Regions from separate parts of the Homo sapiens genome. Here all the other regions are linked to region 1. Evidence: promoter capture Hi-C in human tissues and cell types (Jung and others, 2019). All regions are on one chromosome and are shown on one strand. The core of a region is centred on a gene start or on the middle of the fragment in contact, and the rest is flanking DNA. Distances in the headings are between cores, read along the strand shown.

Region 1 (4,503 bases), core at 1,802-4,301:
CCATTCTCACGCAGTCTTTCTCACACACTATTCTCATCCTCCTTCCCCTCCTGCTCTCTTTGTTCATCCTTTTGGATAAGGCCTATGTTACACTGCCCATATGTCACGCACTAACTTCATCTCCAATTTCTCTCCAACTTGTCTCCTGAGCTGCAATCAAGATAATCTACTTGCTGTAACCTGGAAGTGACTTACTCACAAGTACCTTTGTTCATGATTAACTATTTATCAGCACAATCCTCCCTACTTTGTCTCTGCTAACCCATAGCTACCACCAATCTCAAGTCCCCTCTTTTGTATGTGTTGGAAAGTATATAACTTAACTACATATCATTGTTTTCATCTTATAACCTTATTTCTTTTGTATTTGTCTCACAGTGTGTATTACAGTGTTTCCTAACTAAGGCCGTATATCACAATCACCTATGGAGCTTCCTAAAAAATACGAAGGCCTGGCCGGGCACAGTGGCACATGCCTGTAATCTCAGCACTTTGGGAGGCCGAGGCGGGCAAATCACAAGGTCAAGAGATGGAGATCATCCTGGCCAACATGGTGAAACCCCGCCTCTACTAAAAATACAAAAATTAGCTGGCCACGGTGGTGCGAACCTGTAGTCCCAGCTACTCGGGAGGCTAAGGCAGGAGAATCACTTGAACCTGGGAGGAGGACGTTGCAGTGGGCCCAGATCGTGTCACTGCACTCCAGCCTCGTGACAGAGGAAGACTCCATCTCAAAAACAAACAAACAAACAAACAAACAAAGGCCTTCAGCTACTTGGGAGGCTGAGGTGGGAGGATTTTTCTCAGTCCAGGAGATGGAGGCTGCAGTGAGCTATGATCACGCCATTGCACTCCAGCGCCTGCGTGACAGAGCGAGACCCTGTCTCAAAAAAAAAAAAAAAAAAAAGCAAAATACAAAGGCCTTGACCCGTGGGAGCTGGACATCTTAATTTCTAAAAAGCCTCACTGATGATTTTCATGAACACTCTTAAGCTGAGAAGCACTGATTTATTGCAGTGTTTTCCATATAGCAGACATTCAATGCTTATTAATTCATGGCATGGAAGCCCATAAATAACTTTTCTCTAAATAGCCTAACCAGATATCAACCCCTAGACTACACTAGCTCTGTTCCAAGTGCAACATGTGGTTTTAAGATTTCATTTCCTGAAGTACTACATGGAGAGACACTATTACCTTGTCTCTTTACATTGTTTCCTATTTGTTGAAAAATGGAGGCCTGGAATGCAGCCATGTTAGACAACACTACATAAGAATGTACTCTGGAGTGTTCTGTTCAAATTAGTTATAAAAAGAAGAACAATGTACAAGTAGACATTGTGAATGAATACAGCATTCTTACTGAATGAATAGATTCTTACTAAAGCTATAGAGAAGAAAGATCAGGAATTTGGTCGGTGGTGTCACCCTGTCTTCCTAGCTACCAGTCTCCTAAATTGCTTGAGACAGTCCAGGGACCCCTGAAGACTGAGGAAGACTTTCAGCTGCTAAAGAGCCTCTAAGTGCACTAAAGTGCTCAAATCAGAAAAGTAACCCAAGCCCCACCCAGACAGACCCACAGTTGCCGCCCAACTGCCCTGACACACACTATTTACACAGCTCAGTGGGGGAGCAGTATGAACTTTTTCCAAAATTGTTCCTCACAAGCAGGACCAGTCTGAGTCACCCACCCAGGGTGGGAAAGAAAAGTGTGACATTAGCCAGGGGAGTCTTGGGAGACTGGTCTCAGCACCTCTTTTTTCCCATTTCAGACGTGGGCTCCACCTCCTCCAGGAATCACCTCGGTTATGAGTCACAGCTGTGGGTTACAGGGGTCTGCAGAGCCACCAGGAAAGTTGTGGATGGGGAGCGGATGCCCCAGCCTTCTCTCCGGCAGGGGCGGCAGATCCCAGATTCCACAGGCCTCTCCCAACAGCTCCATCTTGCTTCCTGCCAGGAGGAGGGGCCAAGGAGGGCCCCCGAGTCTAGAAAGGCCCCAGTGGGAGGAGGCCGTTTGACAGCAGGTAACGCCAGGTGAAAATGTCCACAGGAGGGAATGAAAGGAAGGGCAGCAGGGCTGAGCGGAAGGAAAAACCGGGCTTGTGGTCACGAATGACTGCATAAAGGTGTGAGAGTGCCAGAGGAGTGAGCATAAGTAAAATGCCCAGGAGGGAGGAGGAGGCGACAGAGAGTGAGGCAAGTGAATAAAAGGGCGGAATACAGGGAGCTCTGGGGAGCGGGGGTGGGCGAGGCGGGTCTCAGGGTGAGGGGCAGAAGTATTAGAAAGGAGGACAACGTGGCTCAAATAAGGATCCCTAGAAGAGAAGGCAAGGGATCCGTGGGAAGGCCCGCTCTCCCTCCCCCGCACAGCCAGATCGAGGAGGCCTAAAAGGCGCTGAGAGCGAGGAAGTCAACGTGGGGGCGAAGCCTGCGCGGGGCAGGGACCCTCGGACATCCCAGCAACTCTCATTTATTGGGTGTCTGCTGTGGGCCACACGCCGCGCGAGGCACTCCACGAATAATACCTCGCCATATCTTCACGACAAGCCCGCAAGGCAGCCTTTTTCATGACTGCTCCCATTTTATAGATGAGGACACTGAGGCCCGGAGAGGCTCAGGACTCGCTCAAGGTCACAGGGCGGAGAAGAGGCCATTCGAACCCTCGGCGCCTGGCTCCGGAACCCACGCGGAAAGCCACGGCCAGCGAGCCGGCCACAGGCAGCCGCGACGCGGGCCGGGGCCCCGGGGATACCTCCCGCGCCCGCTCCCGCGCCAGGCCCTGCGCGCTCACCCGGACGAGGTTGCTGACGGCCGCCTGCACGGCGGCCACGGGCGCGGTGAGGTCAGGAATGGCTTTGCCGTCCACCTCGCCCTCCTCGTGCATTATCACCAGGTGGGAGATCTGCTGTGCCACCGGCTCCAGGATGCTCTCGATCGTGCGCGTATGAAACACTGGCATCGCGGCGGCGAGCGGGGCGGCGAACCGCGGGCGACAGAGAAGTAGGATCCACGGGGCCGGGAACCGGCGAAGAGACAGACTGTGCAGCGACTACGGAGTCGGGGCTTCCCTCGGCGTAACCAGCCTCACGGGCTCCCCGCCCCCTCTCGTCGCCGCGCCCAATGGCAGCGCAGCTCAGACCTGGGCCGCCACTCCTACTGGTCCCTTTTCGAGATGCTCCGCCCCAGCCACCGCGCCGCCAAACCCCGCCCCTCCCCCATTCCTAAGGGAGGGGCCTGGGATTGGGGCTGAGCCGCCGGGATTGCTACCGGATTCCCGAGCCCTAACGCCGGGCGCTCCTTATAAGGGCATGGTGGGAGCGGAGCGGGCCGCTGGAGCCGGCTGGTCCCGCCCCCGGGCCGCCTCCCGCCTCGGATCTGGGGGGCTCCGCCCCTCTGCAGAATCACCTCAGCGGGGCGGGGTCTCCTCACCTCAAGCGGCGCTAGAGTTTGATGAGACCAAGGGGTCTCCCACGTCCCCTCCTCAACTTTTCCCTTCACACGAAACCCTCAAAATACTCCTTCCATTCCCTCCCAGCAATGCATGGGAAGGTTTTTAGTAAAAGATTCAAACAGCAGAGGTGCACTGAGAAACAGCAGCGTCCCATTCACGTAAACGCAGACTCCGCCCCCTGCCCTCCTCAAAGACATTCTGTTTAACAGCTGGGTGTGTAGCCTTCTAGACTTGTCTATAGATTCACTTCTACATATATATTTTCTAACTAAATGAGATTAATAAACATTTTCCTGGAACTAGGTATGATTGCCCTTGATTAAAATGCCCTTATCTTTCACTGCTGGTAGAGGTCTACCTCATTCTTCTTAATGACTGCATGATATTCCATTGCATGAAATAAAACTATTTACAGAACCAATTTCCTACTCATGGACTTGGGTTGGGTCCTGGTTTTCACTATTAAAAAACAATTCTGCATGAATTGTACTTACCCCTGTGCTGTGCATCTGTGTATTTATCTAGCGCAAATGCCTACCAGGAAAGAGAAAAACGCAAAAGTATATGCATTTTATATTTTGATAGGTAAGACCAAATTATCCAGTTCCCTCACGCTTTGTATAAGACATCTTCCAGGCCGGGCGCGATGGCTCACGCCTGTAATCCCAGCACTTTGGGAGGCTGAGGCGGGCGGATCACGAGGTCAGGAGATCTAGGCCATCCTGTCTAACACGGTGAAACCCCGTATCTACTAAAAATACAAAAAAAATAGCCAGGCGTGGTGGCGGGCGCCTGTAGTCCCAGTTACTCATGAGGCTGAGGCAGGACAATGGCGTGAACCCGGGAGGCGGAGCTTGCAGTGAGCGGAGATCGCGCCACTACACTCCATCCTGGGCGACAGAGCAAGACTCTGTCTCAAAAAAAAAAAAAAAAAAAAAAAGACATCTTCCAAACGTCTTACTTACTTCAAATTCGCTTTTGCCCAAGCTTTCCCATTCTGAGGTAAACACTTTCAGTAATGCCTCCAAGCAAAAGATTCTCACATCAAATGA
Region 2 (4,880 bases), core at 1,178-3,677, 1.0 Mb before region 1:
TCCATTAATTCATGGTGGTGGTGGGGATTACAAAATGGTTATATTTTAATTCTGTCATTTTCTTTTCTTTTTTTTTTTTTTTTGAGATGGAGTCTCACTCTGTTGCCCAGGCTGGAGTACAGTGGCACGATCTCAGCTCACTGCAACCTCCGCCTCCCGGGTTCAAGGGATGCTCCTGCCTCAGCCTCCCAAGTAGCTGGGACTACAGGTGCATGCCGCAACACCCGGATAATTTTTTGTATTTTAGTAGAGATGGAGTTTCACCATGTTGTCCAGGCTGGTCGTGAACTCCCTGAGCTCAGGCAATCCGCCTGCCTCGGCCTCCCAAAGTGCTGGGATTACAGGTGTGAGCCACCGTACATTTTATTTTCATTGGTTAGCTGGAATATGTTTATAAAAAGATGTTTCTGGCCAGGTGCAGTGGCTCATGCCTGTAATCCTATCACGTTGGGAAGCCAAGGCAGATGGATCGCTTGAGCGCAGGAGTTCAAGACCAGCCTGGACAACATAAAGAGACTACAGAAAATGAAAAAATCAGCTGGGCATGGTGGTGTTTACCTGAAGTCCCAGTTACTCAGGAGGCTGAGGTGGGAGGATCTCTTGAGTCTAGGAGGTGAGGCTGCAGTAAGCTGAGATCGCACCACTGCACTACAGCCTGGGTGATAGAGCAAGACCCTGTCTCAAAAAATTTTTAAAAATTTAAAAAATAAAATGATGTTTCCCCTCCTTTACTACTTGATTACTTCACTGTACAGTTTATGTAAGAAAGGCAGGATAAATGTTTTAATTGCAATTTTTGCAGCTTTCAAGAAAATAAACTGGTTCCTATTATCCTCTAAATCAGTTTGTTTTTTAGTATCATTATGAACTTGTGAATTTAAACATTTGACAAGTTGCAATAAATTGCAATTTTTTATCTTTATTATTATATTTATTGTCTGGTCAGAACCTCTTCAAATTGACTCCTGAGTCTTTTTGACATGACCCTAACAATTTTTGCTTCCTTGCTGTCTAGTATGACAAGGAGGACTTTTGTTTTGTTTACAGAAATAACTCTTCGACTTCATTTAAAATGATGACTGTATTTGCCCCCAAAAAAGGACATATGCAAATTTATTGTGGAGACTGACGTCCGCCTGTATTACATTTTCTCATGATTTCAGCAACACCTTTTCGTACCTTCTGCCGTGTAATTGTGCTGCATATTTATTTCCATGTGGACAAATGGTTCATGTGAAACTGAATTGCTTTTAATCCACCCAACCATTTTTATACACTTTAGAAACATTAATTTAAAACAATTTTGCTGAAAAAAAGCGTTCCTCTATGATGTTAACTCAAAGCAGGACTCCATATAAATAATTACAAAAAAGGTTTTTATATTGGTAAACATGAAAATGTAGCATGAATATTAGAGTACAAACATGCTAACCACAAATCCATGGGGGAGAAAAAAAATCAGATTCCTAACTAGTATTTTCCTAAACAATTCTAAACAAGTTAAGGAAAACCTTTTGTTTTACCCAATATGAAATTATATTTAAAAACAAACAAACAAAAAACCAACAACCAACCAACCAACCAACCAAAAAACTACCTTACAACCAGCTGAAGTTATAGTTGTGTTGTTTAGGGCCAGGCGTGGTGGCTCATGCCTGTAATCCCAGCACTTTGGGAGGCTGAGGTGGGTGGATCGCTTGTATTCAGGAGTTTGAGACCAGCCTGGGCAACATGGCAAAACCCTGTCTCTACTAAAAATACAAAAATTACCCGGGCATGGTGGCACGTGCCTGTGATCCCAGCTACTCAGGAGACTGAGGCAGGAGAACTGCTTGAACCCGGGAGGCAGAGGCTGCAGTGAGCTGAGATCGTGCCACTGCACTTCAGCCTGGGCAACAGAGCAAGACTCGGTCTCAAAAGAAAAAAAAAAAAAGAACAAAAAAACGAAATGCCATCATGAGAGGGGTAAGTGGAAGCAAACTTTTATCTTAGAATATTCTATCTCAAACATAATGTCTCTATTACAAGCTGGAATATATGTTCAAGGGGGAATAGTTCTCTTGAAACCCAAATGAGGTATAGCACTAATTTCAACCAAGCAGAGCAAAATCTTTCTTGATCTTGTTTTAACAACAGCTCAGGGCATAGTGGCTCACACCTGTAATCCCAGTGCCTTGGGAGGCCGAGGCAGGAGCATAACTTGAAGCCAGGAGTTGGAAACCAGCCTGGGCAACAAAGCAAGAGCCTGTCTCTAGCTGACCCCCCACCCCTCCCCCTGAAAAATGGCCAGGAATGGTGGCATGTGCCTGTAATCCCAGCTACTTGGGAGGCTGACATGGGAGGATCACTTTAGCTCAGGAATTCAATGCTGCAGTGAGCTATGATCACGCCACTGTACTCCAGCCTGGGTGACAGAGTGAGACCCAGTCTTTAAAAAGAAAAGCAAGGAAAAATGCGTCTCTTCTATATATCTTAACTGGGTAAATGGAAAATAGAGTTGGAAGCATTTCCTCCTCTGCACTGCCACAGCCTCTCTGAAATTTGAAATTGCAGGACTGGGAAGAATTTTGTGTCTGACCCTCTACTTCCCTATGGGCAAGGACTAAATCATTCATCCTTATGTCCTCATCACCTAGACCATCCCTGGCACAGTGTATTTAAAGCATGTTTGCTGAAGGATGGGATGAAGGGATAAATAAAGTGTAAAAAACAAAGACTGAGAGGAGATCTGAGTTTAAGCACTACTGGTCAAAAGCTAGCTGGATGCATCTGGCAGGTGTTGACAGTCATACAAAGAAGTGGATTAACTAGACTCAGGCATTCATTGATTTCCCCCAACAATCCTTTATTCTGTATCCTCTATGTGCTAGGCACTGTGCTCATGGCTTGGAGTTTAGCAATGACCAAGTTCCTGCCCTCTTGATGGTCCCACTAAGGTTTCATTTTGTTCCAGTTCTGCTGAAGATTAGGTTATTCTCATACCAATTATTTGAATGGAATTTGTCCAGTAGTGGATTTCAAAATAACTCAATGCAAATGCCAGTCAACGTTAGAAATCCAAACAGACAAAAAATTTGTTTGGTAAAAAAAAAAAACCAACCACCTGCATGCCAAAACTTGAAAAAATTCTGAGCTATGTAAGGCAAAACACTAGCTTTCAGAAAAAATGAGAGAGACTGCAGACCGTATGTTTCATATTTACAATGTTTTCATTGAGGCAATGAATACAAACTATTCTATAAGAGCTATTTATTTGCTCTTATTTATGACAAGCTTAGCTTAAAAAAAGATACACAAATAAATCGTTAGCCGCACTGTCTCATGCAACTCATTTCAATGCATTCAGCAACAGTCAACCTCTGAATAAATCACTGAGAGCTCAATTTTCAACCTTGATGTTATCTTTAGCATATTAAAATATATTGTACCTCAGACCAATATAATAAAACAGTAATGGCAGAAGCTTTTAGTGTAACATATTATAATGAGAAAATAAGGAAAAATAGCCATTTTCCTTATTATATTACAGACTAGAATCCTATTAAAATAAATGTCATCATTATACTTGATTACATAGGTCAAAATGTGTCTTCCAAAACCCAGCAAAAGCCCAAGGATATAGCTGCTGGTCCAGTATTTTCCAACAAGTGTCATGGGGGCAAAGGTGGGAGGCTCCTTATCTTAGAAAAGGCTATGAAGTACTTGAGCACCATTTCAAAAGCATAACTTATTATTCTTTAATGATTGCCTTGACTGCACTCACCCAGGAGCGTAGCTGCTGGGAAGGCTAAGCAAAGAGAAGCTTTCTTGACAGCTTCTTATGGCTAAAGCTGGTATTTTCCTTTCAAAAATAAATGCAATCAAGAAATGAATTATCTGATAAGAGAAAAAGTAAGCAAAAGATTTAAGTGTCTCTTCAACCTGCTATGTACAAATGTGGATTATGTCACAGCTCTGCTTTCTCCGCCCAAGGTTTAGAGCAGGCAGTGACATCTTCTTTCTGATGCAACTGAAATGATCTTAAGATAGAGGCTGCATTTCAGCAAAAGTACCAGACCTCGAAAGAAGACAGGGCATACCTAGCATCATTTGGAAGTAAGTAAACCAGTGCTGATGGTTTATGTTCTAATAAAATAAAATTGTCCCTAAGAATCACACACTAGAAGGGAAAGCACATTTTAAAAGTTCTTCCCGTCATAATTAATTTAACATTTGTTCAACAATTAATAAGAACCTACTAAGCGCCAGGCTCTTCTAGAAGATCAGAATGCAGCAAAGAGCAAAGTCCACACTCTCATGAAGCTTACTTTTGGTGAAAGACATGGGCAATCAACAATAAATACAGTCATGCACCACATAATGATGTTTAGGTCAACGATGGACCACATATTCAATGGTAGTCCCATAAGATTATAACAGCATATTTTTACTGTACCTTTTCTATATTTAGATATGTTTAGATACAAAAATACCATTATGTTACAACCACTAACACCTACGGTATCCAGTACAGTAACTGCTGTCCAGGTTGGTCACCTAGGAGCAATCAGCTATGCCACATAGCCTAGGTGTGTAGTAACCTATAGACTTCGACTTAGGTCTGTCTAAGTACATACACTATGATGTTCACACGACAATGAAGTTGCCTAATGGTGCATTTCTCAAAATGAATCTCAGTTTTTAAATGATAAATGACTGTATATAAAAGACCTATGCAAGTTTATAAATGACTCTGCACTTGCTTAGCCTAGTTTGTTGTTGTTTTTTTTTTTTGGTTAGTGCCACTAAAAAGAGAGAGAGAGAGAAAACTAAATAACACAAGTCCCTAAGAGATGCTGTCATGGTCCCTCCAAACACATTTCTGAGGCTTGTTTGTGGGG
Region 3 (4,391 bases), core at 345-2,844, 1.1 Mb before region 1:
GCCTCTAATTGGTGACAACTTCTGGGGGATGTTAACTCCACATACTGCAGGCCTGACCAGCACAAGGACTAGAAAATGCCCTCAAGCAGGAAAACAGGCATCTGAGGTAGGAAGGCTTTTATGTATATAAAGAACTGTCCACTTCTGCTGCAGTGACTTGAGCTGAGGAGGCACCTGTAGGCACCTGTAGTAGATGCTATCCTTGTAACAGGGCAAGAATAGCATCGATTACAGGGGCTTACATTTAAAAATCAATAGATTTCTCACAACAATCTATGAGGATCATAAAAATACCAGAAAATCTGGGCTTGCATTCCCACATGGGACAGCAAGCTGCTGCCCCCTTAATGGAGGCATATGCTCCCTGATGTGCCACACTCCCCACCACTCCCTAATGTCTCTTGCCTGAGGCCAACAGCCAGGTTTTTGTTTGTTTACTTTTTAACACCCAACCTACTTCCTTCCTCTATGTTATCTGCCTGGCCCCTCCCTGAAGGAGCCTGAGTTTGTCACCTTTTAAGGAGGAGACAGGCTGCCATTGCATGTAGGCCAAGTCGTCTCGGAGACAGCATTTGATTTCCTGGGACCAAATCTTTAAATATGAAGCTGTAACAGGAACCTGGGGGCCTCTCTTGACAGCCTGCCCAGCTCTCATTATGACATTTAGCCTGTGATTGATATTGTGTGTGTCATTGAGACCTTGGCAGTTAATCTCTGGGTCGAATCTATGGAAACCAAACAGAACAGATTTGTCTTCCCTTCCATGTTGGCTGTGATCTGGGAAACAGATGCTCCTGGCCTCTCTGAGAATTAGAGAGTTGGGAGCCATGCAGAGAGGGTGCACACAGGCCGCCTTCAGGATTTGGAAAGATTACAGGTCTGTGGTTTCTGGACGGTTCCACACTTTGTTCTCTTTCCCCATCAAATCTGCGTGCTGGAGGATAATAGATCCCAGGGCTCACTCTGCGTGCCAAGCTCCTCGGGGTAGACCGCACCACTTCCTCCTTTGTCTGGAAATCCAGCCGAGGCTTTCAGCACAGAGATGGAGACGGGGATGGTTCCCTCCACAGTGTAATGAAGGAAGAATGGCCTCACCAAGGGTGAGGTCAGCTTCAGTGATCAAAGGAGGCAGACGGAGGTTTCAGAACGGAATTGACTCTAGCGTCTCCCGAAAATCACCTCTTCTGAAGCTTCCATTAACCGCAGGCAGGGTTCAAGATGGCCTAAACCACCTTTAGGTGTATGGTGCCCAGCTTCTACTCACTTCGAACAAGAAGAGTGGGTGCCATGGACGAGCTGAGCTTCACACCTTTAGACACTGTGGGCCTGAAGCAAGGAGGGCTATAACTACGTATGCTCTTAGGGGACTGAAAGGTCTGGGCTCGTTTCTGTGAGAAAGATTTCTGGCCACTCCTTAAAATAATTTCTTCCTTCCTGACTGGAAACACAGCAGGCAGGCCCCAGAATAGAGTTTGGGCCTGAATGACCACCCGTGGGGGAGGGCAGCCCACCCTGCGCCTGCAGTCCCCTCACCTTCTCCCTCCTCCAAATCAGCCTGGAGGCTCAGTCCTGCCTTAGCAGCTCTTGCTGAGCCCCTTGCACAGGCCTCACAGCCCTTAATCATTCCTTCACCCCTCAGTCACTCATTCACTCATTCCATTCATTCACTAAGCCACTTCCTCATCCAACCCATATCTCCTGAGCACCTCTTACGTGCCAGACACCAAGGCTACAGAGAGAAGCCACACTCAGGAGCCCCGAAGCAAGGTCCTCTCTCCTCCCAGCCTGCAGCTGCATTCTGGGCCAAAGACCGGGCCTCCCACCCCACTGGGACAGCGGGAGGCATTTTGAATGAGCACCCTCACTACCTTTCCCTTGACTCCGCAGCACCCTGGCTCTCTAGCCACATCTCAGACAATTATTATCAAACTTTACTAAGCGTCAGACTCACTTCGGAGCTCATTGAGATACAGATGCCTGCGCCCCTACGAGGGTGCAGCCCGGATATCTGTATTTTTGGTTAGTGCCAGGTGACTCTGACAGACGTGGTCTTCAGACCACACTTTGAGAGACTTCACAGGAGGGTCCCCTTTGCTGCCTATTGCCCTCTCCACACTTCACCAGGAAGCAGGAAGTTGTTGGAGGAAGTCACAAACCCTGGCTTCCCACAATCCCTACAGACACTCATGGCTAGCTAGTGATCCTTTAAGTCATCTGCTATGGACTTGGGAGAATCCAATTCCCCAAAGCAGTGGTCTCAACCCTTTCCTTTTAAATTTCTATCATGGAGAATTTCAAACACACCTGAAGAGAAACAGCAACTGGCCAGGTGTGATGGCTCACACCTGTAATCCCAACACTTTGGGAAGCTGAGGTGGGAGGATCACTTGAGCTCAGGAGTTCGAGACCAGCTTGGCCAACATAGCGAGACCTCATCTCTATTTTAAAAAAGGAAAAAAGAGAAACAACAACTACCTTATAACCATCATCCAGCCCCAATCACCATCACTCATAGCCAGCCCATCTCATTCACACCTACATCAATACCTTGCCCCAACATTATATTATTTATATTTTCCAACTATATTATTTTTGAAGCAAATATTTCAGTATGTTTTTCTAAAAGATAAGGCCCTGTGGTATAACGTAACTGTCCTCGGAATCTCCAGCAAGTCGGCTGATAGATATAGACCTCTTTGGTGAGATGATTCCCGCCATGGTGGTGTGCTCTTCTATTCGAAGGCATATGATGTCTGACCATCTCTTCTTATTCATACGTGGCTGGCAGTTTATGCTCAGTCTCTGGATGCAGCAACTCATCAGGTGGTGTAAAATGGTGCTTCCTTCTTTATTCATTATCTGGAATACTTCTATAAAAGAACATTTCCCGTATCAACCCAGTAGTATATAGTTTGTAAAAGAGAGAAGCAATACATGCAGATTCTTCTCCTTTATCTATCCATCTTCAAAATAAGGAGCTGGTTCCCAAACATCTTCCAACCGTGCATAATAAGTTTTGGGTTTTTTTTTTTTTTTTTATAAGGTCTCACTGTGTTGCCCAGGAGAGCAGTGATATGATCTTGGCTCACTATAGCCTCAGCCTCCTGGGCTCCAGTGGTCCTCCCACCTCAGCCTCAGCCTCCTGAGTAGCTGGGACTACAGGCATGCACCACCACACCCAGCTAATTTTTGCATTTTTTTGTAGAGATGGGTTTTGTCATGTTGCTCAGGCTGGTCTTGAACTCCTGGGCTCATGCAATCTGCCCACCTCAGCCTCCCAGAGTGCTGGGATTACAGGCATAAGCCACTGCTCCCGGACTGTTTTCAGTATTATTATTATTATTTTGAGATGGAGTTTCACTCTTGTTGCCCAGGCTGGAGTGCAGTGGTGCGATCTCAGCTCACTGCAACCTCTGCCTCCTAGGTTCAAGCGATTCTCCTGCCTCAGCCTCCCAAGTAGCTGGGATTACAGGCACCCGCCACTACACCCGGCTAATTTTTTGTATTTTTAGTAGAGATGGGGTTTCGCCATGTTAGGCAGTCTGGTCTTGAACTCCTGACCTCAGGTGATCTGCCCGCCTCGGCCTCCCAAAGTGCTGGGATTACAGGCATGAGCCACCGCGCCTGGCCTTCAGTATTATTATGACCTAAGTGTTTGATGTGTTTTGATCCACTGGAATTATTTTTATTTTTCATGTTCAAATTGTTCCAGTTTTGATAAGTGGAAGCTTCTTCAAGTTGTATTCTGAGTCCCTTTGACATGTTCCTAATGGTCTTTGAAGCCATGAACCCTTTCCTACATTCTCTGCATCCCCGGCCTGCCCCTCCTCACACTGCACCTCCCATCTCCCTCCCCCTGACACTAAGACCCTGTGCTACAGACAGCCTCAATTCATGATCCTCCTTATCTGTAAAATGGGGCTAATGATAGGGTATTAGGATAACCCTATCTCAGTGTTGTTAAGATTAAATGGGCTTACAATCATCAAGCACTTGGAATAGTGTCTGGCACACAATAGGTGTTATATAAGTATTTGTCAAATAAATAAACAAATAGCATTCACCTCCATGGTTCTCAGTCTTCCCACCTTTTCCTCCTTCTCTCCAGTCTCCTTTCCCAGGCTGACCATAGGTGCATCATTTACTCAGCTCAGGAAACAATCAATGTCCAATTCCACTGCAAATTCCTCTCCTTGGGGACAATGGAAAGTCCTCTCCCACATTCCACTGGCAGAGCCTAACAAGCTCTCCAAATGCACATTTCAGTCTCGAGGCACAGCTTTCTATCTTGGGGCATCTCTTCCAATCCCCTTGGTAAGTTAACACAGTGATGGCCAGGCTCCCAGTGTGAGAGTGTGAGCATTGCCTTCAGCTCTTCTGACAGGTTAACC

The links. The method cuts DNA at HindIII sites, captures the fragments that hold promoters and counts their contacts. A contact is called where the count stands out against the background at its distance.
Region 2: a fragment that was not itself captured here is called in contact with the fragment with the promoter of VCL in region 1 in 1 of the 25 tissues and cell types used here (dorsolateral prefrontal cortex).
Region 3: a contact is called between a fragment that was not itself captured here and the fragment with the promoter of VCL in region 1, in 1 of the 25 tissues and cell types used here (lymphoblastoid cells).

What each region holds. Positions count from the first base shown.
Region 1 is chr10:73,996,664-74,001,166 of GRCh38, reverse strand. It overlaps VCL (vinculin), which reads right to left and starts at 3,051. Exons shown (of 22, transcript NM_014000.3): 1 at 2,792-3,051. The coding sequence starts at 2,959. RefSeq lists enhancers at 2,099-2,750, 2,823-3,022 and silencers at 2,703-2,752, 3,083-3,442. The HindIII fragment of the contact is 15,261 bases long and covers 1-4,503 here.
Region 2 is chr10:75,002,271-75,007,150 of GRCh38, reverse strand. All of the region lies in intron 13 of KAT6B (lysine acetyltransferase 6B), which reads right to left. Among named protein-coding and RNA genes, the nearest start is that of SNORD172, 17 kb to the left of the region's middle. The HindIII fragment of the contact is 3,250 bases long and covers 803-4,052 here.
Region 3 is chr10:75,059,116-75,063,506 of GRCh38, reverse strand. The region is part of intron 1 of DUSP29 (dual specificity phosphatase 29); the gene reads left to right. Among named protein-coding and RNA genes, the nearest start is that of DUSP29, 12 kb to the left of the region's middle. The HindIII fragment of the contact is 5,414 bases long and covers 1-4,301 here.